Regions from separate parts of the Homo sapiens genome. Here region 2 is linked to region 1. Evidence: promoter capture Hi-C in 16 types of primary human blood cells and fetal thymus (Javierre and others, 2016). All regions are on one chromosome and are shown on one strand. Each heading gives the region's core, a stretch centred on a gene start or on the middle of the fragment in contact. The rest is flanking DNA. Distances are from core to core; before and after follow the strand shown.

Region 1 (2,905 bases), core at 216-2,715:
ACAAATATCATAGATGAGCCAGGCACAGTGGCTCACAGCTGTAATCCCAGCACTTTGGGAGACCGAGGCTGTCAGATCGCTTGAGCTCATAAGTTGAAGACCATCCTGGGCAACATGGCAAAACCCCATCACTACAAAAAGTACAAAAATTGCTGGGCATGGTGGTGCACACCTCTTGTCCCAGCTACTCGGGAGGCTCAGATGGGAGGACCACTTGAGCCTGGGGCTCAAGGCTGCAGTCAGCTATGATCTTGACACTGCACTCCAGCCTGAGTGACAGAGTGAGACCCTGTCTCAGAGCAAACATGCACACACACACACACACAAATATCATAGATGTCTTGTCTTCCCCTCTCAAATCTGCTCACTATGACAGGGACTGTGGCTGTCTTGTTGATCACAGTGTGCCCAGTGGCTAGCAAAATATCTCTTATCTTAAGAGATAAGTGGCTGGCACATAACAAATACTGAATAAATGGGTATTCAATTGGATTCACTTGGCTCCTTTATTTACCTTGTCCTTTTCTCTTTCTTTACCCCTCTTGGGTTACGGTTGCCAACACAACCTAGCCCTCTGATAACAGGCAGAACAAGCAGAGGAACTAGCTTACTCCTCCATTAAAATCTGGGCAAAGAGATGGGGTGTGTGTGTGTGTGTGTGTGTGTGTGTGTGTGTGTGTATCTATCCACTAGCCAAAGAAGTGATAGAGTTAAGATAGGCTAAAGAGTCCTTGTAGAGCCAGCAACTCCATTCAAAAGAGCAAGACCCTGTGTCAAAAATAAAAAATAAAAAAATCATGAGCTTGCACTGGGATTGAAAGTTAATAAAAGACTGTGAGATTTTGATGGCATAGATAAAAAAAAAACTAAAACCATGTCATTTGTTCCAACCAAGGTTGGCAACTTAAAACCAAGTAAAACAATGGCCTCTTTGAAAAGAGAAAACTATTTAAATTTCATGAAAAGCATTTTTAAAGGCATAGAATTAAAATATCTTCCCTCTTCCCCATGCAGATAATGCCGTAGTTCAGGGTCTCTCCTCTGATTGTGGCTAAGGGATGAGCCACTCCTATAGTGCCAGTCCTCAGTGAGAAAAGAGAGCATCTCTAGGCATAGTTTTCTCTCTTTCTCTAAAAATCCAATCATTTAGACAATCTAGAAAGAGGATAAAGTATTTGTATTGACGTCCCTGCCTCTTGCTGCTGTCTGCAAAAACCTACCATGAACACTGTTTCCAACAGAAACCATCGGGTTGAACTTACCCTCTACTGCAGATTATCTCTAGGGCTTCCAAGTTCCCATGGTAGGCTGCCAAGAGAGTAGGAGTCATGCCGTCTTCATCCGAAAGATTTAGATCTCGCTTGGTAGCCTCTTTTAGAAGTTCCAGGTAACTATCACTAGCAGCTTGGTGGTAACGAGTAGACATTTTTCCTGCTCACCAGAACTTGGCCAGATGTCTCTCCAGGCAGAGCAAGGTGTTGGCGGAGCAACCTTCCTATAGAGCTGGTTAATTAGTGACAAGGAAGAGTGTCACCAGGGGCAAAGCTCATTTCAACTGCTTCCTTTCACGGAAGGCAACAAGGTTCGAGGCACTGAACTTGGACCTTTTCTCTCTGGAATGGCCATGACGTTGACTATTGAAGACTGCTGTATTCATCTTGAGTGTTTGGAGGTACATTCAATTTTTCTATGTCCATTAGTTTCTTGAGTGTAATATTGGCCATCTAGGCACAGGATGTAAGAAATAATTTCTTAATAAAATGCAGAGCTACTCTAGTTCACTAGCTGTTTTTTCCAAAAAGAACAGCTTTATTGAGGTATAACATCATTAAATTTACCCATTTCATGCATACAATTCAATGATTTTTAGGACATTTATAGAGTTGCATGCCCATTATCATAATCCAGTTTCCATCAGCCCTTAAAGATCCCTCATGCCATTTGCTGTCAATCCCATTTCCACTCCCAACCTCAGGAAACCACAGTCTGCTTTCTGTCTCTATAGATTTGTTTTTTACGGGCATTTCAGACAAATGGAATCCTACAATATATAGTCTTTAGTGTATAGCTTGTTTCAATTCACATACTTTTTTGAGGTTTGTCATGTGTAGCATGTAATGGTTTCTTTCTTTTCACTGCTGAATAATATTCCACTGTGCTAACATACCACATGTTCTTCATCCATTCAATGTTTCATGAATATGATGAATATTTGGGTTGTTTCCATTTTTCAGTAATGATGAATAATGCTGCTATGAGCACTGATGTACAAGTCTCTGTGTGGACACATATTTTCATGTGTCTTGCGTATATATCAAGGAGTGAAACTGCTGGGTTGCATGGCAATTTACATTTAAATTTCAGAAGTTGCCAGACTGTTTTCCAAAGTGGCTGTACTACTTCACATTTCCACCAATAACGTATGAGGGTTTCAATTTCTCCACAACCTTGCCAGCCTTATTATTGCCTATCTTTTTGTTTATGGTCATCCTAGTGGATATGAAGTGGTCTTATTATGGCTTTAATTTTCAATTTCCTAATGACTAAGATATTGAGCATCTTTTCATGTGCCCATTAGCCATTCTTACATCTTCTATTCAAATCTTTTTGCCCAATTTTTAAGTGGTTGTCTTATTAATAAATTATAAGAATTATTTATATACTCTGGATACAAGTCCTATATCAGACATATTTGGAACAGAATGAAAATGAAAATACCACATATCAAGATTTATAGGATGCAGTTAAAGAAAAGCTTAGGGCAAAATTTGTAGTTTTTTATGCATATATGAGAAAGAAAAAAGATCTCAAATCAATAACTTAAACATATTATCAATAACTCAAGGGAAGGAGAAAAAGTATAGAAAAATGACTATAAGGAGTACAATATAAGACCAAAAAATTT
Region 2 (2,905 bases), core at 198-2,697, 1.1 Mb before region 1:
CTCCCAAAGTGCTGGGATGACAGGCGTGAGCCACCAGCCTTTTATTTTTCCTGTGCAATTGCTATAGTTAGGACTTCCAGTGTTTTGTTGAATGGAAGAGGTAAGAGTGGGCATTCCTTCTATACTTAGTTTGTTGATTTTTTAATCATGAATGGTTGTTAATTTTCAGATGCTTTTTCTGCATCTATTGAGAAGATTATATGGTTTTTGTCCTTCATTCTGTTAATGTGGTGTATCACAATTATTGATTTGCATATGTTGAACCATTGAACCATCCTTGCATCCCAGGGATAAATCCAACTTTGTTTTGGAGACAGGGTCTCACTCTGTCACTCAGGCTGGAGTGCAGTGGTGGTCATAGCTCACTGCAGTCTCAAACTCCTGGGCTCAAGCAGTCCTCCTGCCTCAGCTTTCCAAGCAGCTGGGACAATAGGCACACAGCACCACACCTGGCTAATTAAAAAAAAAAAATTTTTTTTTTTTTTTTTTTTTGCAGAGATGGGGTTTTGCTATATTGCCCAGACTGGGATAAATCCCACTTGATCCTGGTGAATGAGCCTTTTAATGTGCTGAATTTGGTTTGCTAGTTCTGGTGAGGTTTTTGCAGCTGTGTTCATCAAGGATATAAGGATATTGGTCTAATTTGCTTTTATTTTCTTTCTTTCTTTCTTTCTTTATATTTTTAGGTGGAGTCTCGCTCTGTCGCCCAGGCTGGAGTGCAGTGGCGCGATCTTGGCTCACTGCAACCTCCGCCACCCAGGTTCTAGCGATTCTCCGGCCTCAGCTTCCTGAGTAGCTGGTATTACAGGCATGCGCCACCACTCTCGGTTAATTTTTAGTAGAGACGGGGTTTCACCATTTTGGCCAGGATGTTCTCAAACTCCTGACCTCAGGTGATCTGCCCATCTTGGCCTCGCAGTGTTGGGATTACAGGCATGAGCCACTGTGCTCGGCCTAATTTTCTTTTCTTATAGTGTCCTTGTCTGGATTTGATATCAGGGTAGTGCTGGCCTTGTAAAATTAGTTTGAAAGTATTCCTCTTCATCAAATTTTTGGAAGTTTCAGAAAGATAGGTAGTAGTTTTCCATAAATGTTTAGTTGAATTCGGCAATGATGCCACCAGGTCCTGGGCTTTTCTTTGATGGCAGACTTTTTAAAATTATTGATTCAACCTTCTTACTCATTGGTCAGATTTTCGGTGTCTTTGTGATTCAGTCTTGGTAGGCTGTATGTGTCTAGGAACTCATCCATTTCTTGTAGGTTATCCAGTTTGCTGGTAATTTTTTATGGTAGTCTCTTAGGATCCTTTGTATTTCTTTTCTTTTCTCTTTTTTTTTTTTTTTTTTTTTTTTTTGAGACAGAGAGTCTTGCTCTGTCTCCCAGGTTGGAGTGTGTAGTGGCGTGATCTTGGCTCACTGCAACTTCCATCTCACGGGTTCCAGCAATTCTCCCACCTAAGCCTCCCAAGTAGCTGAGATTACAGGCATGTACCACCACACCCAGCTAATTTTTTTTTTTCGAGATGGAGTTTTGCTCATGTTGCCTAGGCTAGAGTGCAATGGCATGGTCTTGGCTCACTGCAACTTCTGCCTCCCGGGTTCAAGTGATTCTCCTGCCTCAGCCTCCCAAGTAGCTGGGATTACAGGAACCTGCTAGCATGCCTGGCTAATTTTTTGTATTTTTAGTAGAGACAGGGTTTCACCACTTTGACCAGGGTGGTCTCAAACTCCTGACCTCAAGTGATCCGCCCACCTTGGCCTCCCAAAGTGCTGGGATTACAGGCATGAGCCACCGTGCCTGGCCTGATCCTTTGTATTTCTATGGAATCAGTTGTAATGTCTTCCCTTCTCCCTCTCCCTTCTTTCCTTTCTTTCTTTCTTTCTTACAAGGTCTCACTCTTATCGCCCAAGCTGGAGTGCAGTGGTGGGATCTCAGCTCACTACAACATTCCCTTCCCAGGCTCAAGTGATTCTCCTACCTCAGCCTCCCAAGTAGCTGGGATTACAGGTGCCTGCCACCATGCCCAGCAAATTTTTGTATTTTTTAGTAGAGATGGGGTTCACCATATTGACCAGGCTGATCTCAAACTCCTGACCTCAGGTGATCCACCTGCCTTGGCCTCCCAAAGTGCTGGGATTATCTTTTTCCATTTCTAATTCTATGAGAGTCTTCTCTATTTTTTCTTAGCTAGAAGTTTGTCAATTTTATCTTTTCAAGAAACCAACTGAATTTTGTTGATCTTTTCATTTTTTTCAGCTCTGGTCTTTACTATTTCCTTTCTTTTATTTATTTTTGAGACGTAGTCTTGCTCTGGTCTTTATTATTTCCATTTATGTATATATGTATGTATTTTTGAGATGGAGTCTTGCTCTGTTACCCAGGCTGGAGTGCAGTAGCGTAATCTCATCTCACTGCAACCTCCGTCTCCCAGGTTCAAGCGATTCTTCTGCCTCAGCCTCCCGAGTAGCTGGGACTATAGGAGCGTGTCACCATACATGGCTAATTTTTTTGCATTTTTAGTAGAGATGGGGTTTTTCCATGTTGGTCAGGCTAGTCTCAAACCCCTGACCTCAGGTGATCTGCCCACCTTGGCCTCCCAAAGTGCTGGGATTACAGGTGTGAGCCACCTCACCTGGCCTATTTCCTTTTATTAACTGGGCCTAGTTCTTTTTATTTTCCTGGTGCCTTGAGGTGTAACATTGGGTTGTTTATCTGAAGTCTTTTCTTTCTGATGTGGGTGGGGATTGCTATAAACTTCTGTCTCAGAGCTGCTTTTGTTGTATTTCATGTTTTGTGTCCATTTTTGTCTCAAGATATTTTTAAAATTTTTCCTTTTAGTTTTTTTCATTGGCCTATTTGTTGTTCAGGAGCATGTTTAATTTCCACGTATTTGTAAATTTTCTGA

Evidence for each region. The method cuts DNA at HindIII sites, captures the fragments that hold promoters and counts their contacts. A CHiCAGO score of 5 or more calls a contact.
Region 2: a fragment that was not itself captured here is called in contact with the fragment with the promoter of ANKS4B in region 1 in 1 of 17 cell types (total B cells); the score reaches 5.0 in total B cells.

What each region holds. Positions count from the first base shown.
Region 1 is chr16:21,232,259-21,235,163 of GRCh38, reverse strand. ANKS4B (ankyrin repeat and sterile alpha motif domain containing 4B) reads right to left here and starts at 1,465. Exons shown (of 2, transcript NM_145865.3): 1 at 1,263-1,465. The coding sequence starts at 1,426. It overlaps LOC105371123 (a long non-coding RNA gene), which reads left to right and starts at 1,562. Exons shown (of 2, transcript XR_001752344.2): 1 at 1,562-1,672. The HindIII fragment of the contact is 3,732 bases long and covers 1-2,757 here.
Region 2 is chr16:22,338,508-22,341,412 of GRCh38, reverse strand. The region is part of intron 1 of LOC124903664 (a long non-coding RNA gene); the gene reads left to right. Among named protein-coding and RNA genes, the nearest start is that of CDR2, 35 kb to the left of the region's middle. The HindIII fragment of the contact is 4,639 bases long and covers 1-2,905 here.